4 separate regions of the Homo sapiens genome follow, and regions 1, 2 and 3 are each linked to region 4. The links are contacts of gene promoters, found by promoter capture Hi-C in blood cells and fetal thymus (Javierre and others, 2016). All regions are on one chromosome and are shown on one strand. The core of a region is centred on a gene start or on the middle of the fragment in contact, and the rest is flanking DNA. Distances in the headings are between cores, read along the strand shown. Region 1 has its middle 22 kb from the start of MED21. Region 2 overlaps TM7SF3 (transmembrane 7 superfamily member 3). Region 3 has its middle 23 kb from the start of C12orf71. Region 4 holds the start of STK38L (serine/threonine kinase 38 like).

Evidence for each region. Contacts are between HindIII fragments. The CHiCAGO score rates a contact against its expected background, and 5 or more counts as called.
Region 1: a fragment that was not itself captured here is called in contact with the fragment with the promoter of STK38L in region 4 in 3 of 17 cell types (M2 macrophages, M0 macrophages and M1 macrophages); the score reaches 9.4 in M2 macrophages.
Region 2: a contact is called between a fragment that was not itself captured here and the fragment with the promoter of STK38L in region 4, in 2 of 17 cell types (neutrophils and monocytes). The highest score is 7.4, in neutrophils.
Region 3: a fragment that was not itself captured here is called in contact with the fragment with the promoter of STK38L in region 4 in 1 of 17 cell types (neutrophils); the score reaches 5.5 in neutrophils.

What each region holds. Positions count from the first base shown.
Region 1 is chr12:27,041,538-27,047,498 of GRCh38, forward strand. No RefSeq gene overlaps it. Among named protein-coding and RNA genes, the nearest start is that of MED21, 22 kb to the left of the region's middle. The HindIII fragment of the contact is 5,419 bases long and covers 396-5,814 here.
Region 2 is chr12:26,989,266-26,996,047 of GRCh38, forward strand. It overlaps TM7SF3 (transmembrane 7 superfamily member 3), which reads right to left. Exons shown (of 12, transcript NM_016551.3): 5 at 5,972-6,143; 6 at 1,185-1,362. Among named protein-coding and RNA genes, the nearest start is that of TM7SF3, 22 kb to the right of the region's middle. The HindIII fragment of the contact is 8,079 bases long and covers 311-6,782 here.
Region 3 is chr12:27,102,585-27,109,353 of GRCh38, forward strand. It overlaps the pseudogene LOC124902904. Among named protein-coding and RNA genes, the nearest start is that of C12orf71, 23 kb to the left of the region's middle. RefSeq lists an enhancer at 1,431-1,600. The HindIII fragment of the contact is 6,266 bases long and covers 1-4,517 here.
Region 4 is chr12:27,239,573-27,246,435 of GRCh38, forward strand. STK38L (serine/threonine kinase 38 like) reads left to right here and starts at 4,714. Exons shown (of 14, transcript NM_015000.4): 1 at 4,714-4,760. RefSeq lists enhancers at 3,425-3,484, 6,073-6,122 and a silencer at 4,543-4,782. The HindIII fragment of the contact is 3,512 bases long and covers 3,520-6,863 here.

The DNA of each region.
Region 1 (5,961 bases), core at 1,855-4,354, 200 kb before region 4:
GACCAAATCTATGTCTGATTAGTGTACCTGAAAGTGATGGGAGGAATGGAACCAAGTTGGAAAACACTCTGCAGGATATTATCCAAGAGAATTTCCCCAACCTAGCAAGGCAGGCCAACATTCAAATTCAGGAAATACAGAGAACACCACAAAAATACTCCTCAAGAAGAGCAACTCCAAGACACATAATTGTGAGATTCACCAAAGTTGAAATGAAGGAAAAAATGTTAAGGGCAGCCAGAGAGAAAGGTCGGGTTACCCACAAAGGGAAGCCCGTCAAACTAACAGCAGATCTCTCGGCAGAAACTCTACAAGCCAGAAGAGAGTGGGGGCCAATATTCAACATTCTTAAACAAAAGAATTTTCAACCCAGAATTTTACATCCAGCCAAACTAAGCTTCATAAGTGAAGGAAAAATAAAATCCTTTACTGACAAGCAAATCTGAGAGACTTTGTCACCACCAGGCCTGCCCTACAAGAGCTCCTGAAGGAAGCACTAAACATAGAAAGGAACAACCAGTACCAGCCACTGCAAAAACATGCCAAAATGTAAAGACCATCAATGCTAGAAAGAAACTGCATTAACTAACGAGCAAAGTAACCAGCTAACATCATAATGACAGGATCAAATTCCCACATAACAGTATTAACCTTAAATGTAAATGGGCTAAATGCTCCAATTAAAAGACACAGACTGGCAAATTGGATAAAGAGTCAAGACCCATCAGTGTGCTGTATTCAGGAGACCCATCTCATGTGCAGAGGCACACATAGGCTCAAAATAAAGGGAGGGAGGAAGATCTACCAAGCAAATGGAAAACAAAAAAAGGTAGGGGTTGCAATCCTATCTCTGATAAAACAGAATATAAACCAACAAAGATGAAAAGAGACAAGGCCATTATATAATGGTAAATGGATCAATTCAACAAGAAGAGCTAACTATCCTAAATATATATGCACCCAATACAGGAGCACCCAGATTCATAAAGCAAGTCCTTGGAGACTTACAAAGAGACTTAGACTCCCACACAATAATAATGGGAGACTTTAACACCCCACTGTCAACATTAGACAGATCAAGGAGACAGAAGGTTAACAAGGATATCCAGGACTTCACCTCTGCACCAAGGGGACCTAATAGACATCTACAGAACTCTCCACCACAAATCAACAGAATATACATTCTTCTCAGCACCACATTGCACTTATTCCAAAATTGAGCACATAGTTGGAAGTAAAGCACTCCTCAGCAAATGCAGAAGAACAGAAATAACAAACTGTCTCTCAGACCACAGTGCAATCAAATTAGAACTCAGGATTAAGAAACTCACTCAAAACCACTCAACTACATGGAAACTGAACAACCTGCTCCTGAATGACTACTGGGTACATAACGAAATGAAGGCAGAAATAAAGGTGTTTTTTGAAACCAATGAGAACAAAGACACAACGTACCAGAATCTCTGGGACACATTTCAAGCAGTGTGTAGAGGGAAATTTATAGCACTAAATGCCCACAAGAGAAAGCAGGAAAGATCTAAAATTGACACCCTAACATCACAATTAAAAGAACTAGAGAAGCAAGAGCAAACACATTCAAAAGCTAGCAGAAGGCAAGAAATAACTAAGATCAGAGCAGAACTGAAGGAAATAGAAACACAAAAAACCCTTCAAAAAATCAATGAATCCAGGAGCTGGTTTTTTGAAAAGATCAACAAAATTGATAGACCACTAGCAAGTCTAATAAAGAAGAAAAGAGAGAAGAATCAAACAGATGCAATAAAAAATGATAAAGGGGATATCACCACCGATCCCACAGAAATACAAACTACCATCAGAGAATACTGTAAATACCTCTGTGCAAATAAACTAGAAAATCTAGAAGAAATGGATAAATTCCTGCACACATACACCCTCCCAAGACTAAATCAGGAAGAAGTTGAATCCCTGAATAGACCAATAACAGGCTCTGAAATTGAGGCAATAATTAATAGCCTACCAATCAAAAAAAGACCTCATGGTATTTTTATGGAATGTAAATCAGTTTATAGATGAGCAGGAGTCTAGTATCATCCTTTAAGACATATCTGGTTTTTATAGGGTCAGACCGGTGAATTAAGTAGGCACTTGATGGGGATCACAGTGCCTGCAACTTTTGGGTCTTTAAGGATGACTTTAACGTCTACCATAGTCCCAGGCAATATTGTTTTTAATTTACAATATAATTTTTTTACATTTTTACAATTATTTATAATATTTGTCTTTTATGTACAATATTGTCAATGCCGTATTCTTTTAAAATTTACTATATTGGCTGAGACAGGATGAGAGGGACAGTTTCAGAGTCTCCACTTGGCTTTCCCCACTTCCGTAGCTCTTACACCATTGGTTAAGAAACCAGTGTGGGGGTTGTGCTAACTACAAAGTCAGTGACCAGGGAAATAATCACTGATGGGTCATGAAACCAGTGAACCTACTGTGAGTGGGATCTTTGCAAGGACCCCATGTATCATCTGGCAACCATAACCCTTTTCCCCAACAAGGTGGCCATGATAATGCCCCTTTGAATTAATTCTGCATTAATTCTTAGGTATTAATGTCAAAACAGACTCTGCCACCAACAAACTCCTCAAAATGCCTTGGCTTGTCTCTTTCCCTTGTATACAGTAACCTGAGTAAATGGCCACAGGTCTCTTTGGGATAGGTATGAGAGAATCATTGTAAACACTTGCATTATAGGGTTTTTCTCACGCAAGATCCTCATTGTTGTTCAGTCATTGGGTTCTGAATCTGAAAAAGGTCTCAAGTTCTGAAACAGGGAAGACATCATGACTTTTTGTTGGGAAGTGCTCTCAGGATTTTAGTCATCTATCTTTGTTGTGTATCATATGGCATGTACTCTTTGTGTCTGGCTTCTTTCATTAAGTACAATGATTTTGAGATTTACACAGATTGTTAGTGCATCGATCTTTTTATTTTTGAATAGCATCCCATTTAATTGATTCCATTGATTGCAATGCTGCCTGTCTCTCTTGCCCTTAGGGACTCATGTTCTCTTAATCTTCATAGCTCTCCGAGGGTCGGAAACTCCATTACTTGCTACTCAGACTTTGCTGTTATTACAGTAATTAAGCCTATTTTGGTTCTGATGGTTTAGATTTGCCACCAGGCACCTTTTGTTTGGGGATCCTGTTATTCCCATTGCCATCATGTAGCGTAGTTTGGTACCAACATCAACCATCAGACTTAGCCACTGGTGTCTAGAACCAGCTCTCACAAGATGGATTTATTCTCATCAACTCTCACAAGATTGTTACATTTTTTGAAGTTTTATGAACCAGTTGTTACCCAAGATGTTGAATGTAATATGACAGGAGAATGATCCATCCTTATGTCGATATACTCTCCCTTATCCAACATTATTCTCCTTGACTGCATTTTCATGTTCCAGTCTCATGTGTATTTTCTCAGCTCTTGCCAGTACATCTTAACTAGGACCTGCAGCGCCTTTTCCTCCATAACAGACCCAGCACCCCCAAGCTGTGTTATATCATGATTGATCCTAATTTTTTATTGGGTAGCCAGAATGTGAGGTGGGGGTTGCATTACTCTGTTCTCACATTGCTATAAAGAAATACCTGCGATTAGGTAATTGATAAAAGAGGTTTAATTGGCTCACGTTTCTGCAGGCTGTACAGGAAGCACAGTGCTAACAAGTGCTTGGCTTCTGGGGAGGCCTCAGGAAACTTACAACCATGGCAGAAGGTGAAGGGGGAGCAGGCATATCACATGGCCAGAGCAGGAGCAAGAAAATGAGGGGGAGATGCTTTTAAATGACCAGATCTTACAAGAGCTCACTCACTGTTGTGATGACAGTACCAAGACGATGGTGCTAAGCCATTCATGAGAAATCTGCCACCATGATCCAATCACCTCTGACCATGGCCTACCTCCAACATTGGGGATTTTTTATATGAGATTTGGGTGGGGACACACATCCAAAGTATATCAGGTGTGTATCCTGGGCAGAGGTGGGTGGGTGGGGGGTGGCATTTATCTTGCAAAGTAGAGGACTTGGCATCATCTTCCAGGAAATGGGTAGAGCTAACCTTTAAGAGAGGGAGAGGAGAAGGCTGCTTGTGCCAGCCCGGAGGAATCAGGGGAAGTGCGATTCAAGATTTTCAGCATATTAACCAAGAGGACCCATTCCAAGTCTTAAGATCACAGTCCTTCCCATCAATACCCTCCCTGACCTTGATGAAGCCAACTTGCCTGAGTTGAGAATCATATATTTCTAGAGCTTGTTCACTACTCTTGGAATTAAAGGCTGAATCTGATCCTCAGTTTTTTCTGCCTCCAGACTACAAGAGATGAGCATCTGCTGCCAAAGAGGCCTTCTAGCTTTCACACTTTGCCTTCAGTCGATGATTAATACCCTTAGCCTTTCATTTCCCCCCCAAAGTATTCATTGATAGCATTTAGCAATGATCATATTCCACTTTTTTTGTTTACAGATTTATTGAAGTTTAATTGATGACAATAAACTACATATGTGTTTGTATGTATGTGTGTGCAGTGCACAATTTGCTAAGTTTTTGTTTGTTTTTGTTTTTGAGACAGGGTCTCGCTTTGCCACACAGGCTGGAGTGCAATGGCACAGTCATAGCTCACTGCAACCTCAGCCTTCCACATTTGGTAAGTTTTGACATGTATCTATGAAACCATTATCAAAATCAAGACAACAAACATTTCATCAACCCCAAAAGTTTCCTCCTGCTCCTTTTAGTTTTATCCTTCCTTCTATCCCCAGGTAACTCCTGATTTGCTTTCTGATAGGTTAGTTTGCATTTTCTAGAATTTTATATAAATGGAATAATACAGCATGTATTCTTTTTTTTTTTTGGTCTGGCTACTTTCATTAAGTATAATGATTTTGAGATTTATGTATCTCGTTGGTGTATCAATCTTTTTATTGTTGAATAGTGTATCCCATTTAATAGATCTATCAAATGTGTTTATCCATTGATCTGTTGATGGACATTTGGGCTATTTCCAGGTTTGGGCTATTATGAATAAAGCTGCTATGAATATTCATATACAAGTCTTTGTGTGGACATGTTCCCATATTTCTTGAATAAATATGTAGAAGTGGAATGGCTGGGATATTTGGCAAAAGTGTTTTAAGTTTTCAAGAAAGTGCCCATCTATTTTCCAGTCATTGTACTCTTTTGCATTCTCATCAGCAGTGTAGGAGAGTTCCAGCTGCCCCACACCTTCACCAGCAGTGGGCAAAGTCTTTTAACTTTAGCCATTCTAGTGGGTGTATAATGGTAACTCATTGTAGTTTTTTCATTTCATTTTTAAATTGAGGTACAATTGACATGCAATGAACTGCACCTATTTAAACTGTACAATTTGATGAGTTTGACATATGTATATACCAATGAAACCAACACAATCAAGATGATAAATATATTCATCACCCTCAAAAGTTTTCTCATACCCCTATGAAATTCTATCTTCTCTCCCCTCCTTGCTCCTGATTCCCTACCCCAGATAACCACTAATCTTCCTTCTGTCATTAGTTTGCATTTTCTAGAGTTTTATACAAGTGGAATCTACAGTATGTACTTTATATGTATCAATAGGTCATACCTTTTTGTTACTTACATCTTTGTTACTGTGACATATTTCACTGTATGGCTAAACCATTATTAGTTTACCTGTTGACAGACATTTGGGTTGTTTCTAATTTTTGCCAAACACAAATAAAGTGGCTATGAACATTTACATACAAGTATTTGTATGGACTTAAGCTTTAATTTCTCTTAGGTAAATACCTAAGGAGTAGAATGGCTGGATCATATAATAGGTGTATATAGTATTTAACTTTTTTTTATAACACTGTAAAACTGTTTCATAGTGGTTGTATGGAAATAAAAATGAGAAACAAAATAAAAC
Region 2 (6,782 bases), core at 3,100-5,599, 250 kb before region 4:
ACTCTACTAAAAATACAAAAATTAGCCAGGGATGGTGGTGTGTGCTTGTTAATCCCAGCTACTCAGGAGGCTGAGGCAGGAGAATCACTTGAACCTGGGAGGCAGAGGTTGCAGTGGGCCAAGATCATGCCACTGCACTCCAGATTGGGCAACAGGAGTGAAACTATGTCTCAGAAAAAAAGAAAAGAGTTATACACAGGTTTTCAACTGCACAGGAGTCGGCTCCCCCACAACCCCTACACTGTTCAAAGGTCAATTGCATATAGAGAGAGAAGAAGAGAGAATGAAAAGCAAATAGCCTAATACATTAAGCTTTGAGGAATCTGGATGAAGATTATACAGAAATTCTTTATACTATTTTTGCATATTTTCTGAGAAACCATTTCAAGATAAACTGCTAAATACACACACACACACACACACCCCTCACAACACCTTCACTGCCCCCATTCTACCTAACCTAGTTATCTCTCCCCTGGATTACTTCAGTGGCCTCCTAACCAATCTGCATTTCTGCTCTTGCCTCCGTCTTTTCTCAAAAAGCAGCCAGTGATCTCATTAAAATATCTTAGATCATGGCACCATTTGCTCAAAACCTTCCAATGCCTTTCCCTTTCATTCAGAATAGAAGCAAAATCCCATACTACAGTCTACAAGGCCACACACAGGCTGCCTGCCCCTGCACCTCTCACCTCACCTCTACTTCCTTTGCCCTCCTCGTTCTCCTGCAACCCCTGTCATCACTGCAGTTCTTCACACCCTCAGACAGGCTCCCAGGTGCAGGCCCTCATCCTGGCTGCTCCCTCTGCCTGGTACATGCCACACCCAGGTACGTGCGTGGTGCATCAAGGACTGCCCTGGCCATGCTATCTATCTCAAATTTTCCTCTTACTGGCATGTGTTATCTCCCTTTCCTACTTTATTTATCTTCTTAGCACTCACCATTTTCTCACGTATTACATATTTTATAAATTTATCTTGTCTGTCTCATCTCCCTCACTATAATATAAGCTCCAGAACAAGTATTTTTGCTGTTTTGTTTACTGCTATGTCCCAGTGCCTAGAACAGAGAGTGGAATAACGTAGGGGCTCAAAAGGTATGTGTTGAATGAATGAGAACTAGACAAAAGCATTATCTGCAAGGCCAAAGGAGAATTTGTAAAAGTTTAAAGCCACATACTCACCTAGGGAAGCACAACTACCCTCTCCTGCCTCAAAGCTGCAAGCGTATGTGTGAGCAGGAATGTAGGCAGCAGATGTATTTAGAAACGGGTCCCAAACAATGACATTGTATATGACACCTTGTCCCGGGAGGGAGGAGAAGGAAACACTTGTCTTATCATTAGCTGTTAGGGTAACCACCTGAAGCCAAAAATAACACATGATTAGTGTTTAGGGGATTTTTTTAAGCTATTCTGTGATAATCCCACCTACGTGTAATATTAAATGGTATATTCATAAATTATAATTCTTGCTTAAAATATACACCAACCCATTTAATATGGTCAAAAGGCCATCTTACATGGTTTGTATGTGCTAATGTAAACAAGCTCTCACACAAAATGCTTCCAAAGGTTTTTTTTAATAGTTTAAGGAAAATGCGATATAAACAATGTATAAATGCTAGTTACGACCATGAAAAAAGTTTTTTCACCTCTGCTAGACTATAAACAAGGATGGGAACTGTATTTCTCTTGTGCACTGCTCTTTCCTCAGTGTACAGCCCAATGCCTAACACAGAGGATGTGTCCAATGTTAGCCACAGACTAACGCAGACAGTCTGTTAACATCTCGCAGACAGTACCCACTTATTTTTGTCTAACAGTCTCTGAAACAAGAAAATATTACATGAGGTTTTGTTATGTAGTAGTAGTTCTTTTTTTTTTTTTTTTTTTTTTGAGACGGAGTCTCGCTCTGTCGCCCAGGCCGGACTGCGGACTGCAGTGGCGCAATCTCGGCTCACTGCAAGCTCCGCTTCCCGGGTTCACGCCATTCTCCTGCCTCAGCCTCCCCAGTAGCTGGGACTACAGGCGCCCGCCACCGCGCCCGGCTAATTTTTTGTATTTTTAGTAGAGACGGGGTTTCACCTTGTTAGCCAGGATGGTCTCGATCTCCTGACCTCATGATCCACCCGCCTCGGCCTCCCAAAGTGCTGGGATTACAGGCGTGAGCCACCGCGCCCGGCCAGTAGTTCTTAACTTCAGAAATTCCATTGTAAACTATAAAATAGAAGAAACAAATGCTTTATAGAACCATAATACCTATGTTCCTACTAATTTGAGAAAAATAAATATTAGGGTTTTAGGAGAAAATTATTATGAGCCCTCCTACATCAGACTACCATTGTTTAAAAATACTGCTTAGCCTTCAATAACTTGCTTCCTGGGCAAAGGTCTGGTAAAGTTCAACAAACTGTTAATATTACTCCCAAGTTACAATGAAAAGTTTAAACCAGACAGAAAAGTTGAATGAATAACACAATAAATAGACTATATACTGCCTAATATCAACAATTGTTAATATTTTACATTTGCTTCTCTATCACTAGTTTCTCCCCAACTCTACTTTTTTCCTGCTGAAAGTAAGTTACAGATATCATGACATTTCACTTCTAAACACTTCACTGTGCATGTCCTACCACAGTGTTTCTCAAATTTAACGTGCTTGTGAATCGCAGGGGGCAGTCTTGTTAAAAGGTAGATCTGATTCTTAGGTCAGCGTGGTACTAGCAATTGTGCCTTTCTAGAAAGCTCTCAGATGATGCCAATGCTATGCAAACACCTACCACACTCTGAGTAACAAGTTACTCAGTACAGATGTAAGTCTAAGTACAGACTTACAAGGGGGTTACATCAGGATAAACCCATCGTAAAGTCAAAATGCATTTAATGTACCTCACCCACCAAACATTATGGCTTTACCCTAGCCTACCTTAAATGTGCTCAGAACACTTACATTAGATTCAGTTGAACAAAATCATCTAACACAAAGGCTATTTTATTTTTTTATTATTATTATTATTATTATTGAGACGGAATGTCGCTCTGTTGCCCAGGCTGGAGTGCAGTGGCACGATCATCTCGGCTCACTGCAAGCTCTGCCTCCCAGGTTCACGCCATTCTCCTGCCTCAGCCTCCTGAGTAGCTGGGACTACAGGCGCCCGCCACCACCACTACGCCCAGCTAATTTTTTGTATTTTTAGTAGAGACAGGGTTTCACCCTGTTAGCCAGGATGGGCTCGATCTCCTGACCTTGTGATCCTCCCGCCTTGGCCTCCCAAAGTGCTGGGATTACAGGCGTGAGCCACCATGTCCGGCCCACAAATGCTATTTTATAATAAAGTGTTTAATTGCTTATGTAATTTATTGAATACAGTACACTGTAAAATGTTAGCTATTACCCGTGTGGTTAAGCAGGAGCGATGGCTCACTGCCACTGCTCAGCGTTGCAAGAGTATCATACTGTATATTGCTAGCTCAGGAAATTATCAAAACTAAAATCAAAAGATCATAAGTCAAACCATCATAAGTCAGGGACCATCTGTATAAGAATATTCTCCTATATAACAATACCTTAGCTCACCTACGAAAATGAATAATTTCTTATTAGCTAATAAATGATCCAGATTTTCCCTAATGTCTTTTTTTTTTTTTTTTTTTTTTGAGACAGGGTCTCACTCTGTCGCCCAGGCTACAGTGCAGTGGCGTGATCTCAGCTTACTGCAACTTCTCCCAGGCTCAAGCGATCCTCCCACCTCAGCCTCCTCAATATCTGGGACTACAGGCACGCACCACCACGCCTGGAACTTTTTGGTTTTTTTAGTGGCTGTGAGGTTTTGCCACGTTGCCCAGGCTGGTCTCAAACTCCTGAGCTCAAGTGATCTGCCCTCCTTAGCCTCCCAAAGTGCTGGGATTACAGGTGTGTGCCACTGTTCCTGGCTCCTAACATCTTTTCTAGCTTTTCTCCTTCTTACCCAAGATCAAACCAAGTTCCATGCATGGTGTTTACGGCCAATCTCAGTAATCCAGAGCAGTCTGTCCCACCTTTCTCTCCCAGCTACCCAATGACTGTAGAAGATGTGAAGTCAGTATTCTCATAAAGTATTCCACAATTTTGTGTCTAACTTATTCTTTTATCCCCCATATTTCCTGTAAATAGGGAATCCAATGGACTAAATTCAGGTTAGACATTTTTTGCTAGAATATACCACAGGTGATGGTGATAATGTCAGACTGCACTACATAAGCACGTAATACAGGCTGATCCATTTTCAGTGAAACTAGCTTTGCCCACCTGGAATAGGTGGAGACTATAAGGTCACTCCATGTTAAAGTGGTTCTCCTTTTACAATGAGAATTAATCTAAGGATGCTACTTAGACACCCTAGAAATATCCTGTTCCCCAAAAACCTTTCACCTGCTGATCCTTGCTGGAATTATTTCATTGAGGGTCACAAAATGGTGATCATCTAATTCTATTATTTCTTCTACATATATTAGCCAGCACTCTTCTGCAAAGAGCTTTCTCTCACCAACTGGGGAAGAATTAGTTCCTCCTTTAAAAAGGCAAGCTAAATTTCTTTATCAATTTTTAGAGTAATTTGCTGTAAGAGTCTCCTCCAGTGGTGGCAACTGAGGAAGGTTTCATTTGTATTTATTCAAGGCTGACAACCACAGTCTTTTTCTTGATTCTTGAACTGCCCCAAATTTGGCAGTGCAAGCCCCTTCAAACAGGCTCCTGAATCTCTTTGACATACCCTCATTAGTCTTTGAGGGTTTCCCCACATTCTGGTACAAAATATTCTTTTAACTAAAAGTTTAAAAGTAACCTACAAAAAGCCTATTATACAAGTTCTTATATTCTTCATAAAAATAATAATAGTATTAAAATGTCATATCTAATAAAGCAACTAATAAACTTTACTAACAGAGCTTCTTATTTTGTGAATAAGCACAATGACGCTGTCTAGAAAAACTCCACCCATCAACCATTAGACTGAAGGATGACCTCATATATTATATTGCTGTTAGGCACTTTTCAAGACATAAAGATAAAATCCTGCCCTCCACAAAAATGATCTATTGCAGTGAGTCTCAAAATTTAATATGCATAAAAATCACCTGAGGGCTGGAGTGCAACAGCACCATCTGGGCTCATTGCAACCTCCACCTCCTGGGTTCAAACAATTCTCCTGCCTCAGCCTCCCAAGTAGCTGGTATTACAGGCATCTACCAACATGCCTGGCTAATTTTTGTATTTTTAGTAGAGACACGGTTTCACCATGTTGGACAGGCTGGTCTCAAACTCCTGACCTCAGGTGATCCACCCGCCTCGGCCTCCCAAAGTGCTGGGATTACAGGCGTGAGCCACTGCACCCAGTCAGAATCACCTGAGGGATATAAAATGCAAATTCTGATTCAGTAGTTCCAGGGTGGAGTTTAAGAATTACAATTCTCACAAACTCCCCAGTGATGCCAATGCCACTGGTCCATGGTCCACACCTGGGGAGCAAGGGTTTACATGGATTCAAAAGCTCAGAGAAGAATTTTACTCCAAGTTAGACTTTGAGTTTGGGTTCAAATATGAATGCCAATGTGTATATCCTTAAGCAGTTTCTCATTATTTTTTTCTCAAAACAATGTAATCTTCATACTTGCCAAAAATGTTTACCCAGTAGTCGTGGGAGTACACAGAAAATTACCACCTCCTTCCATTCACATTTCAGATTACCAAGTCACAGATGTGGCTGCAACTAAAACGTAACATAATTTACATGCATCTCCTCAAAGGCCAACATCATTTTGAGATATCACCAGCAAAGACTCCCAAGATGATAACAAAAGAGAATAAAGTGAGTGTCCCCCAAAAAGGAGAAAAGAGTAAAGAAATAAGATCCTGGTAGCTTCTCCCCTTCTCAACTCTGACAAAGGTGTCACAATCCAGCCACACAAATCATGGGACTCAGATTTACCTTGAGAGCACTGGCCTTCACCTGGGGCACACTGACCATCCTCTGCAGATGCTTCAGCAACATCTCCTCAGTGAGGTCATTCTCAGGCAGAAAATACTGATAGACATCATACTGCAACCTCCACCTGGAGTCCTGGTCTGTCCCAGCGTCACATGGTGGGGGATCTACGCCTCTAAAGTCAACCAACAAAATGAAACATCAGTCTCTTGTGGTGCAAGTCCCATCTATAAAAAGGAACCAAGAGCCCTAATTTCAAACACTTGCAACAATAATTACAATTTAACAGTTCACCTTTTGCAGTGGCAACAATTGGTATTCTGAAGAAAAGTAATGCACTGTTATGGACTGAATGTTTGTGTCTCCCCAAAATTAATATGCTGAGACCCTCACTCCCAGTGTGATGATATTAGGAGGTGGGACCTTTGGAAGGTAATTAGGTCATGAAGGTGAAGCCCTAATGAATCGAATTACTGCCCTCATAAAGGAGATCCCAGAGAGCCCTCTAGCCTTCTTTCTGTCATGTGTGGACACAATGACAACCCAGCAGTCTGTAACCTGGACGAGAACCTTCACCAGAACTCAACTGTGCTGGCATCCTGATCGTGGACTTCTACCCTCTAGAACCATGAGAAAGAAGTTTATAAGCCACCCAGTCTGTGCTACTTTGTTACAGCACCACAAACTAAGACAAACACCAACAGGCAAAGGTGATTACATAACTGGATTCTGATATCAGTCAGGCCTAGAGTAAAATACTACAGCTCTGGGGAGGCAAAAAAATTTTTTTTAAAAAAAAGCTGGGTGCAGTGGC
Region 3 (6,769 bases), core at 135-2,634, 140 kb before region 4:
AACATCAACTACATGAAGCTCCCCCTCCTCGGGGCCTTTGCACTTACTGTTGTTTCTCCCTGGAATCTCTTCCCAGATATTCCTGTGACTTTCTCCCCTCACCTTCTTCAAGGTTTTAATCAATGTCACTTTACCAATGGGGCCCTCCCTGATTATCAGATCAAAACTTCTAAGTCCCTGCCATTCCCTTTCTGCACGAAGAGCTGGCACAGTATATAATTAAGCGGACATGCTCTGCTGCCAGACTGTCTGACTTCACATCATTTTTCTAGCTGTGTGACTTGGTGCCTCAGTTTGATCACTAATAAAGTGGGGATAAGTATCGTGTCATTAGGGTTATTGTAAAGATTAATTGAATTGATATATGAAAAGCACTAAAAAACAGTGCCCGGTACATAGTAAGCTAATGTTAATGTTATTCCTCTTGCTTGCTTCATTATTTTTCCCATAGCACTTATCAATCACCCTCTCATCTGCTATGTATTTAAACTATTTTTTGTGGTTTCTTGCCATTAGAATGTATGTGCCATCAGAGCAACAACTTTTTACTTTTTTTCCTTTTCTATTTTCTTTCTTTGCTTTTTCTTCATTACTTTTTAAATTCAATTTAAAAAGAAAATTGAGTTGCCAGCTTCACCACTTAGAATAGTGCCTGATATACAATAGGTACTCAATAAATATTGTGTAATCAGTGGGTGAATGAGAGAAGAGTCTGTGCACTTTCAGGAGGCTGTAGGATAAGGTAGGTTAGGGAAGGGGCTGGAAACATTTTCTGCAAAGAGCCAGATAGTAAATATTTTAGGCTTCGTGAGTTACAACTACTCAACTTTGCTGTTGTGGCATGAAAGCCACCATAGATGATATGTAAACGAATGAATGTGACTGTGTTCCAAAGAAACTTTATAAAAACAGGCAGTGGGCTAGATTTGACCATAGGTCATAGTTTGCCAACTCCTGGGTTGGGGAATAATTTTTGGCCTTACTTTCCCCCTCATTACTCCTCCCTTCAGCCAGCAATTAGTGCTATTCACTCAGAACTGAAATATGAATAATTTGAAAAGCATTACATTACCCCTTAGTATTTGGCTCAGTATACAAATTTTCCATATGTCTCTTAATATTTTATTAGGAAATAACAATGTTAAGAATATATTTTGAACTTTCCAGCTGTACAGTTTCAGGGCTCTGGTTTTCATTTCTCTTCTCCAACAGCCGAAAACTGGTGATTCTGGCCAGGAGCACGTGTGCTATAAAGGAACAAGCAGTGTTGGCATTCCTCTTACTGTATGGCCAAGAGTGTAACTGACACCCAGTTGGAATAGAAACCAACAGAAATTACCTACAAGACAAACTGTTGAGTTTATAAGATTATTTATGAAAACTTATTCCTCCACAAAACTGTTTCCTAGCCCACAGTTTTTACCAGTCTTCCCAATCAATTTTATATGCTAGCAAGTTTCTTCCAGCTTTTTAATACAGTGAGTTTTGACCATGTGACAAACTGAAACTTTAACACAAATTATATAGCTTTTATTGGTGTAATTAAAGCAGGTCAGATGATGCATCATAATTAGGCAAATAAGCAGTCCAACTATGTGACTGCAACTGATGTAAATTTTATGCAACCAGAAATGGTTTTTGTGTCACCTCTTCTGAACTTAGCAGCCCATCCTTATTGTCGGTGCTAACAGTTTTCCACTTGCCGTTTAATTGTCTTCATCATTTTATATGTGTGGAAAGAACAAACCTGGACCATACTCCCCATTTGTTGGGGTTTTCTTGCTCCCTGTGTTGCACCTTTTTACAGCTGTGGTCCATGGCTGCGGTTTCCAATCAGAGTGTGATGTAACCTACTCCCAAGACACCTGGCCAATGTGCCTCATTTTGTTTTCCATCATGAATTAATCTGTTTTCTAAAATTCAATTTAAAAAGAAAATTGAGTTGCCAGCAGAACTATCACATAATTGGATATCACAGCAAGGTCAAGTTGCTATGCAGTTGTTAAAGTGGTTATTCTCAATTTCTGTACTTATAGTAGACCAGCAACAGTTCGTGCACCAGCTCCAGTCCACAGACCACATTCTAAGCAACACCACTTCAGAGCAGTGGTTTTCAAACGTTTTTATCCCAGTATAAAGTATGCATTCTTAGGTTGTAAAACACATGAGTGTGTACATGCCTGTGCAGACACACACACACACATACTCTGAAACCACTGGAATGTCAGCCACCTAAAGGCAGAGCTTCGCTTTTCTTGGTCTTTTTCACTGTTCTGCCTCTAATACCTGGCACATAGGAGGCCCTCAATCAATATTTGTTGCAGGTACGTGTGTGTGTATGTGTGTGTCTGAATAATCAAATCAGAATTTTCACACGATAATGCTTAACCTTTACTTCTGATGAACTACTCTTTTGTTGTCTATTTAATACAAAGAAATGCTGATTTCAATCTATTAATTCTATTTCAGTATGTTCCAATTTTAGCAGTTGTGACCCACGATTTATAAAACATTCCTTTAGAAGGTGCTTGTGTATAGGAATTTGTTATTCTTTTCTTCTTCAGAACTATGAGTAGCTGTTGCTCACTCCTGTCTTCCTATAGGTATACATATCCCAGAACTGTTTACATCTAGGAAGCAGTCCATGTAGCCTGCATACATTAGGTTGGTAGGCCTGTGAAGGAAAATAGAGATAGATGAGTCTCCAGGTTTTTAAGAGCTAAAAAGAAGGGAAGAATGAGGTTAGAGTTCGAGTGGTTAGAGCAATAACAAGTTGAAACAGACCCACCGATACTCCTCCATAATACTGGGGACTAAGTTTGCAAACTCTTAGGAATAATGTCATTCTAAAATAGTACAATGAATTTGATTCACCTACATCTCGAAGAGCATGAAATTTCACTTTTTAAGATTGTGCATAGCAAGGCTGATAGCAATAATCACGTTTATCTAAATGTATCTTAAAAGTTAAGGTCATGGCTGGGTGCAGTGTCTCCCACCTGTAACCCCAGCACTTTGGGAAGCCAAGGCGGAAGGATTGCTTCAGCTCAGAGTTTTAGACCAGCCTGGGCTACGTAGTGAGACCTGCCCTCTACTAAAAATAAAAAATCAGCTGAGCATGGTGGTGCCCACCTTGTAGTCCTAGCTACTGGGGAGGCTGAGGTGGGAGGATCACTTGAGCCCAGGAGGTCAAGGCTGCAGTGAGCCGCGATCATGCCACTGCACTCCATCCTGTGTGACAGAGCCAAGACCCTGTCTCAAAAAAAAAAAAAAATCAAACAAAAACAAGTAAAGGTCAGGATGTAGTTTTCTGAATTACGCATATAGGATCTGGAGTACTTAAGACATCAGAGCGTGTATGTGTTTGCAGGGCCACTGAGTCATAGCTGCACACAGCAAGCATTTGGTGTCTACCACACTAGATTATGGGGAACAGATAGCAGAAACACAGTCTGTTTTCAAGGAGTGCACAGCTTTGTCCAGGAGACAATCACTGTAAAATCAGGGCTGTCATGGTGGTGGCAGTCGGGCTGGCCTTGGAGGAAAGAATGCCTGACCCACCTTGAAAACATGTGTCCCAGGACATAGAAGAGGGCCCAAGAAGTAGGGGGATCAGTGCGTGTCATGGCACAGAGGTGAGAGGTTAGAAATGTCTTCCAAGCAGGGCATGTCTTTGCAGTATGGTGGGAGGCTGGCAGTCCTGTACATAGTTTATAGTTTGGATTAGAAACATGTGAGGGAGGTCAAGGTTGGTGATCCCAGTCAAGGCCTAATAGTTGTTTGTTAAATACCTACTGAATGAGTGAGAGGAATACATGGGAACAACATGGGTTTTGGACTCAAATCTCACTTCTTCAGTGACCTTGAACAAATTCCTAACTTCTCCATGTAGTCATAACAATAGCTAGTAAGAGTAGATATCGAGAAATGGGGCTTTCTTTCAACTTATCACAAGATCTTCAAATCTACTGACATTTAATACACATCAGTTTTTCAATAGCAGCAGCATCCTTTATTTGAGAAGTAAAAGATCTTGGCTTATTGTATAAACCTTTTCATCAACTCTCTTCTGGTTATTCCTAAGCATTAATAGCAGAGAGCCAGAGGGCTCATTTCCTTTTACCTCATCCTATTTTCCCTTGCTGCTTCATTTATTTGATTACTTACTAGCTTTGCTTTTTTGTATTTTGTGGCATTTCATTGTAGTGAACAAGAGAAGTAACTTTTACTAATGTATTGTCATTAATACGCCCTCTTTTGTACTCTGCCTTATAATCCTCTGTGAGCAGGTGTTTCATTTTCTGAATGTGCGTGTGCATGTGTGTGTTTGTGTTTGTGAGGGTGGTTAAAATAACAAGTATTGTGTTATTTGGTTTATAAATATTTGGTGAGCCCTTAGTATGCTTGAGGTTATGGTAGAGAAATAAAATATCTAAGACAATATATCATGGTTGAAGGTGTTTGAAAATTTTATGGTTTAAATATATGGATAAAAATGGAAATGTTTTATTATGGAAAGCTTCAAATATATAAAAACATAGATAGAATACCCAGCTGGGTGCAGTGGCTCACACTTGTATTCCCAGTACTTGGGAGGCTGAGGTGAGCGTATCGCTTGAACCCAAGAGTTCAAGACCAGCCTGGGCAACATGGCGAAACCCTGTCTCTACAAAAAATACAAAAATTAGCCAGGTGTGGTAGCCCCAGCTACTTGGGAGGCTGAGATGGGGGTATTGCTTGAGCCTGGAGAAGTTAAGGCTGCAGTGAGCCATGTTTGCACCACTGCACTACAGCCTGGGCGATAGAATGAGACTCTGTTTCAAAAAATATATGTATAGATAGATAGTATAGTGTACCCTCAAATACCATCACCCATTTTCAACAATTATCAACTTATGGCTAATCTTGTTTTATCAATATCTTTACCCTATTTTCTTCTATTTTATTTTAAAACAAATTCGAAATATATTATTTCATCTATGAGTATTTTGCTACTTGGCTCTAAAAAATAAGGACTCAACAAAGATAAGTTATAATAGCATTATTAATAACCTTAGAATGACAGTAATTCCTTAATATCAAATACATGCTGTTCAAGTTTCCAGTTATACCATCCACTCTAAACTTATTTTATAGTTTTTTTTTTTTTTCTTGCTGTGTTACCCAGGCTGGAGTGCAGTGGCACTATCTCGGCTCACTGCAATCTCTGCCTTCCAGGTTCAAGTGATTCTTCTGCTTCAGCGTCCTAAGTAGCTAAGACTACAGGTGCACGCCACCACGCCTGGCTAATTTTTGTGTTTTTTGTAGAGATGGGGTTTCACTATGTTAACCAGGCTGATCTCGGACTCCTGACCTCAAATGATCTGCCCGCATCGGCCTCCCAAAGTGCTGGGATTACAGGGGTAAGCCACTGTGCCTGGCCTTATTTTACAGTTTGAAGCCTCCTGAGGAGGCTGAGTTGGGAGGATCACTTGAGCCCAGGAGTTTAAGGCTAGCCTGGGTAATACAGCCAAACCCCATTAAAAAAAATGTGTGTTGTAACATTAGGTATCGCCCCTGCTGCCAACACTCCTGACCTTTTCCGGTTTCATCACTTCCCCTGCCCTCGTTTTGCCCTTTCCAAGTGATTCTGAATTAATTTTCTAGGGATGTTGGAGCAGATTGGTGGTGAGAAGGGTTTGGGCTAATAGAGTGGGGAGGAAAAAAGTATGTGATGACAGATACATAGCAGAGAACCAGAAAACAAGGAGGGTTGTATTTAAGAATCTCTAAAATGTTGCAGACATATGAACCTATAGTGGTTGAGGTTTAAAGGGAGAGATTTTTTGAATTAAAACCTGAATGGCTTCTTCAGAGCTGTTATTTTGGGATCAAAAGTAAGAAACTGAGGTGTGGGGAGAGGAATTCTACCCTTATTTTTTACTTTGGTAGCCAATTTCCACCTCATCTGGGCAGGGCTTTTTGTCCCAAGGAGGAAAGGCCTCAGTGTGTGTGAGTCTAGTGATTGAGTGCGCCTCAGAGCCAGTGGGAGGGCTCGGAAAAACACAGATTGCTGGGCCTGCCCCTGAAGTTTCTGATTCAGCAGACCTAGGGTGGGGTCCAGGGATTTGCATTTCTTTCTTTTTTTTTCTTTTTCTTTTTCTTTTTTTTTTTTTTTGAGACGGAGTCTCGCTCTGTCACTCAGGCTGGAGTGCGGTGGTGAGAGGTGTGATCTCGGCTCACTGCAACCTCCACCTCCTGGGTTCAAGCAATTCTCCTGCCTCAACCTCCCAAGTAGCTGGGACTACAGGTGTGCATCACCACACCTGGCTAATTTTTGTATTTTTAGTAGAGACAGGATTTGGCCTTGTTGGCCAGGATTGTGTCAAACTCCTGACCTCAAGTGATCCACCCATCTTGGCCTCCCAAAGTACTGGGCTGACAGGCATGAGCCACCATTTGCATTTCTTACTAGCTCACAGGTGATGCTGTTTTTCCAAAACACAGACCTATTAGTGCCTGCTTCTCCCTTTTGATCTGTTTTGTTTTTTATTTTAAATTAATTTTTATGAGTACATAGTAGGTGTGAGTCTTTATGGGGTACATGAGATATTTTGATACAGGCATACATCACGTAATAATCACATCAGGGTAAATGGGGTGTCTGTCACCTCAAGCATCTATCATTTCTTTGTGTTATGGACATTCCAATTATATTCTTTTAGTTATTTATAAATGTACAGTAAGTTATTGTTGACAGTTTTCACCCTGTTGTGCTACCAAATATGAT
Region 4 (6,863 bases), core at 3,464-5,963:
AAAATTATATTTGAAATTATTAATCATAACAGAATTTACATACATTTGAAAAACAGAGGTATATATGGGAATGATTATATATTTGATTTACATTCCTTGGTGGACATAAGGGTCATGGAGGGGCTTCTGCTCTAAGTTTTATATCCTTCTTCTTCCTTTGAATTTATTTTGTTTTCTCTTTCAGGTTTCCTGAGTTGAAAGCTTTGTTCATTTGTTTTCATTTTTGTGTTTTCTGTGAAGTGCATTTAAAACAATAAATTAGCCCTCTAAATACTGCTTTGGGTATATCTCACAGTTGCAAAATTGCATAGATGGAAAAGTTGCTTTATTCATTTGGTAGAAGGGTTTTATCAATAGCTTTCCTTCTATTATTATTTACTACTGCCATTTGGCATTCATTCTTTATTTACTATGTGGTAGGCCTAAGAGAGTAAAAGTAATATCAAAGAGTTCTTCCGATCAAGGAGCTACCACTTTCACATGGCAAAAACAAAAATCAGATAAATTGAGTGCTGAAAAGGTTTTCATCATGATTTTTCTCATCCTTTCTGGCCTACAATTTTAGCCTGTCTGCCTACATTTAGCATAAACTTGAAGAAGAGGGAATATGTGGAGGAAGGGGATACAAAGTCATATTCAGCTATAGTCTAATAAGGTTAGTAGTGGCCACAGTGTATGTTTATTACCTGAACTTTGATTCTGTATCAGATAGTTGGTGATAAGAGTTTTGGAAGTTCCTTCAAATGATCTATTACTTAGGTCAATGGTTCTTAACCTGGGTCTGTGAACCTCAATGCAAAAACCATATATATATTACATATATAACTATGTATAGTTATATAGTTATATATATTACATATATGACTATGTATAGTTGTATAGTTATATATATTACATATATGACTATGTATAGTTGTATAGTTATATATATTACATATATGACTATGTATAGTTGTATAGTTATATATATTACATATATGACTATGTATAGTTGTATAGTTATATATATTACATATATGACTATGTATAGTTGTATAGTTATATATATTACATATATGACTATGTATAGTTGTATAGTTATATATATTACATATATGACTATGTATAGTTGTATAGTTATATATATTACATATATGACTATGTATAGTTGTATAGTTATATATATTACATATATGACTATGTATAGTTGTATAGTTATATATATTACATATATGACTATGTATAGTTGTATAGTTATATATATTACATATATCACTATGTATAGTTGTATAGTTATATATATTACATATATCACTATGTATAGTTGTATAGTTATATATATTACATATATGACTATGTATAGTTATATATATTACATATATGACTATGTATAGTTATATATATTACATATATGACTATGTATAGTTATATATATTACATATATGACTGTATAGTTATATATATTACATATATGACTATGTATAGTTATATATATTACATATATGACTCTGTATAGTTATATATATTACATATATGACTCTGTATAGTTATATATATTACATATATGACTCTGTATAGTTATATATATTACATATATGACTCTGTATAGTTATATATATTACATATATGACTCTGTATAGTTATATATATTACATATATGACTCTGTATAGTTATATATATTACATATATGACTCTGTATAGTTATATATATTACATATATGACTCTGTATAGTTATATATATTACATATATGACTCTGTATAGTTATATATTACATATATGACTCTGTATAGTTATATATATTACATATATGACTCTGTATAGTTATATATATTACATATATGACTCTGTATAGTTATATATATTACATATATGACTCTGTATAGTTATATATATTACATATATGACTCTGTATAGTTATATATATTACATATATGACTCTGTATAGTTATATATATTACATATATGACTCTGTATAGTTATATATATTACATATATGACTCTGTATAGTTATATATTACATATATGACTCTGTATAGTTATATATATTACATATATGACTCTGTATAGTTATATATATTACATATATGACTCTGTATAGTTATATATATTACATATATGACTCTGTATAGTTATATATATTACATATATGACTATGTATAGTTATATATATTACATATATGACTATGTATAGTCATATAGTTATATATATTACATATATGACTATGTATAGTCATATAGTTATATATTACATATATGACTATGTATAGTTATATAGTTATATATATTACATATTATGTAATTTTTTCACTAAACTCAAACTGAAAATTAGCATTTCTTCCATCATGAATGTAGGCAGCAAACCACAGGAATATTAGCAATACCTGTGACTTTTCCTCAATAGGAATCACACATATTTTCTACCCCATTAAAGTTGTTGTAGATATCTCAAAATATTGTTTCTGTGTATCATTACTACAAAATTACTGTAGGTCTTGATCTTATTATTTAATGCATTAATAAAGAGGCAAATATATAACTATTTTAGTTATCTATGGCAGTGTAACATAGTATCCCAAAAGTTAGTGGCTTAAAACCACAAATATTTATTGTCTCACAGTTTCTGTGGGCCAGAAATCTGGGCTTGGCTAGTTGGGCCTGCTGGCTCAGTATCTGGTTTTACAAGGCTGCAGTCTAGGTGTCAGGTGGGGCTGCAGTCATCTCAAGGCTCAACTGGGAAAGAATCTACTTCCAAGCTTACTTACATGATTATTGGCAGTATTCAGTTCATCACAGGTTGTTGGACTGGGGGCCTGAATTCCTTGGTGGCTGTTGACTGGATCTCTCTCAGTTCCTTGCCATGTGGGCTTCTCTGTAAGGCAGGTCACAAGACAGCAGCTGGCTTCCATGAAAGCGAGCAAGTGAGAGAGCAAGGACAAGCAAGATGGAGCCCAGAATATTTTTGTAACCTAATCACGGAAATGATATCCTAATCACTTTTGCTATATTTCCTTTTTAAGAACTAAGTTACTAGAGAAGGGAATTACAGAAGGCAGGAATACTAGAAGGCGTGGATCATTGGCAGCCATCTTAGATGCTACTACTACTTACCACATAATTATATTACAAACTCACTTTTTAGTATTTTGGTAACTGTATGTTAACATTATCAATTTCCTTTGTAACCCTAGGTAGTTTATGCATTTAAGAACACTGTTTTGAAAAGGGGTCCATAGACCACCAAAATTCTGGTTCATAGCTCTAATTTGTTTCAGTTGAGGTACTTTCAACAACTTCCCAGGGAAATTTGTTTACAATGGTCTCAATTTAGGAGAATTTAGGAACTAGAGGTCAAAGTCTTAGGCTATCCCATATTAACCTAGACTGCTACTCTATACTAGTTCATATTACTCTAGTATGGCACATTTGAAGACATAAATTTGCTGTGGAACAAACCATACACTGTTCTCAATCTTATCGTAGCATTTGAATGGTATGTGTATGCGTGCAGTACAGGGAGAAGGGTGTATAGGCCTGTCAAGCTTGTCTGATCACAATTAAACCTCCTATGCTTGTATATGACAACTGTCATTTGAGTTTCAAAATGACCATATAAGTGGAGCTGATCTCCCCAAAAATACACTAATTACCAAACTAGAGCTTTTCCCACTACTAAGCTATGTATGAAAAAGCACAGTGTAAGAAAGAGAAATGAGGTAATGCTTCTTTCCTAGGTGTTTTGCTCGTGTCACCTGCTCTTGGGAAACCTAAAGATGACAGGTGGCATTTCTAAGTGATAGTTTTTGCAAGCACAGTACCAGCTTCATACGTTGTCTCAGTAAGCTAAAAGCTAAGAATATTTTATAAGACCTCCAATACTCATATTGAGGATAAACTTGCCAACAATAATTGGGAGTCATTCTCTCATTTGGCTTTCCCAAAGGCCAGTTTTGTCCCCAGACGCAAATTGCATCAACCTTCCCAAAGTTGTCCCTTTTGGGTCATCCTATAGGGGAGTGCTCTTCTGCACAATTCTCAGATCCTACTGATAAAGCAGGCCAGTACTGTAGTTATTTTAGATTTTCCAAGAAAACTCAAACAGGTTTTTAATGTATTTTTTGTGGCATTTACAAATCCTGGTTCCTCTCCAGTCTCTGGAGTCCCCTCATGGTGAAATGGAAGCGTCAAGGAACCTGGGTGGCTTCGAGTCCCCACAGCTACCGACTGAGCAACTTAGCTGATCCATCTTTGTTGACAACTGTTTCCCAATCTGAAAAATGCGTGAATTCTCTCTTTCCATTTCTAACATTCTTTGCATTGCACTGTTTGAAAAATTCGGATGACATTTAGAATGTGACTAATGTCGCAACACATTAGGCCACTCTCAAGAGAGGCCTGAACAGGTTTGGCGTAAAAACGGCAGTGAGGTGAGGCTGGTGAGAGGGGAAGTGGCGACAGTTCAGTCAACTCCCTCAAAACCAGTCTGGCCTTCACCAGGCGGAGATGGGTGGGGCCGGGAAGACGGGCGTTGACGACAGAAGGCTACTTCCGGCTGTGGTGCGTATGACGTCAGGGCGAGTCGGACCGACCCAGCCACCGAGAAGCCGAGGAGGCAAGGCTCGCGAGAGTTCAGGGAGGCCGCCCTGAGATTCCGGCGAGGCCGCGGGTCCCACCTCCCGGGGGCGGGGCGAGGGCGGAGCGGGGAGAAGGGAGCTGACGGGCGCCCGGCCGGCTGCGGTCCGTGCGGAGGCTGAGCCGGCCGCGGGCGCGACCGGAGGCAGGTGAGTTCGCGGATGTAGCGCTCGGCTGAGGGCCCGAGCTCGCCGCGCCAGCCCCAACTCTGCGAGCAGGAGCAGGAGGAGATTTTAGGTGTCTTTGGGTGTCCAGGGAAAGCCGGGCTAATTCTGGGGCTGGAAATGTCTCCGGGGAACCTGCGGCGACGGCCTTGGCCCTCTTATTCCCCGGGGTGATACTGGCCCCATGTGTCCAGAGAGGGAGCCTCGCACCCGGGGAGGAATCTTTGTCCTCTGCTCCTTTCTCCTTCCACTCCCCGGCCCCCGAGCACTCCGCTCCGGGTCCCCGCCTGGGCTTCACAAACAATAACAAATGTCGCGGATCCTCTCCGGGTAGCCCCAGCGCTCCCGTCCCGTGCCCTCCAGCCGATGTCACCCAGAGCCAGGATCCGAAGCATGGCTCTTCAATTGTGGGGGCTGTTTGTGTACCGTTCCTAAAAACTGATGCGTCAGATTGCCAAACATTTCTCAAGACAGACTCAGGAAAGCCTCCCAGCTCCTAGAAGCCACGGAGTGCTCAAAACCAGTCTTAGAATCTGTCTTTACCATTGCACCCGTAGCCCCTTCCTTTCAAAATCATTTCTCCCACTCCTTTTTTCACCTTTAGTATCGAGGTCGAACGAGTGGTTATTTGGTGTGGGAGTAGAAAAGAGTATAACCGATTGAGTAGGGCACGTTTCACCTTTAAAAAGTTGCCAGGTTGACAGCAAAAGAACAAACTTTATTTTCAAAACCAGTGGCCTCCCCTTTTACTGGTGCTGCTTTTGTTTTGTGGAATAGCTTTTCGGGTTCTAAGTTTGGAGGAATGATATAAAAAGAAGTGGGAGGTGGGGGGAGGGCTAGTGGCTCTGGAAGTAGTGGCTTGTCCAAAAGTAGGATGCTATTGTTTCTCACTTGATAAAATGCAGAACCAACACTTTTACCCATTTCACATAACTTGTGATAAGTTTTGAGAGAAGCCACTTAATCGGAAATGGCCTATTAGCTTATTTTACTGCTCAAATCTGAAAAAACAGCTTTAAGTGATTTAAGTTCTGCCTCTTGATTGTAAGATGGGGATTGATGAGTGAGACCTTGTCTTTTTTGGCGCTGGGGCTTACGTTTGACCGGTCTCTCTACTTTAAGGCAGGGCCTATTGTACTTAAGCCCATTTTTGCTTCCTCAGTACAGATTCTTGAAAGTTCTTTGTCTCAATCATATATGTATATAAGGTACTGTAAACCTCTTTGAATTTGATTGGCCTTTCTCTCTGTGCCTCAGGATATGTAAAACAATTAAGTTTATTATACTCTCTCCCCAGTGGCTGAGAGGTATTGTATGTGAATTAGCCACCCTTGTGACTATTTGAGGAGAGAGAAGTTAGTCTAAAATATTATGTTAAATTATGATATTACATAATTTTATTGCATAAGTTCATCAAACTACTTCCATCTGAAAAATCCTGATCTCAAAATAGGTAGGTACAATGAATTAAAAAATGTTTTGGTTTGACCTCACTTAGCTTTGTTTTCTCCTTGTTAAGATGGCTGATAATGTTTCCCATTTGGTTGTGATGTGTTTAGAATGAGAAGCAAAGTTGGGTGTAGTTTTTGTACTCTTTTGAAAGGCCTTGCCACTAGGAATGAAAAAATTAGACTTAGAAAACACACATTAAATAGAAGCAGTTTTTCTCTAGCCATTTGCTCTTGAGTTTGTTTTAAAATAAGTCAAAGAATGGAGACTGAGATGATTTGTGCCAACAAATAGATGTCCTTGTTAGTTTTTATGCTGAAAACTTGATTTCTAAAGGTAGGACACTGTAAGAACAAAGGAGAAATTGGACTTCCTAAAAAATGATAACAAAGCAATGGACTCAGTTCAGCTGTTTGCTTTCAGAAAAGTTCTGTTCTCTTAAAGTAAGGAGAGCATCATTGTGTTAGTGAAATTGGATAACGCACCTTAGAAAGTGCCTCCCCAGTGATCCAGGATAAGTTGGAGGCTCTTTTGTGTGTGTGTGGCACTTTTTGTTAAGAGGGAGAAAGGGCACAAATCAGAGCCAGAAAGATTTGCATCTCGATGTATTGTTAAAATGCTTTTATTTTATGTAAATAG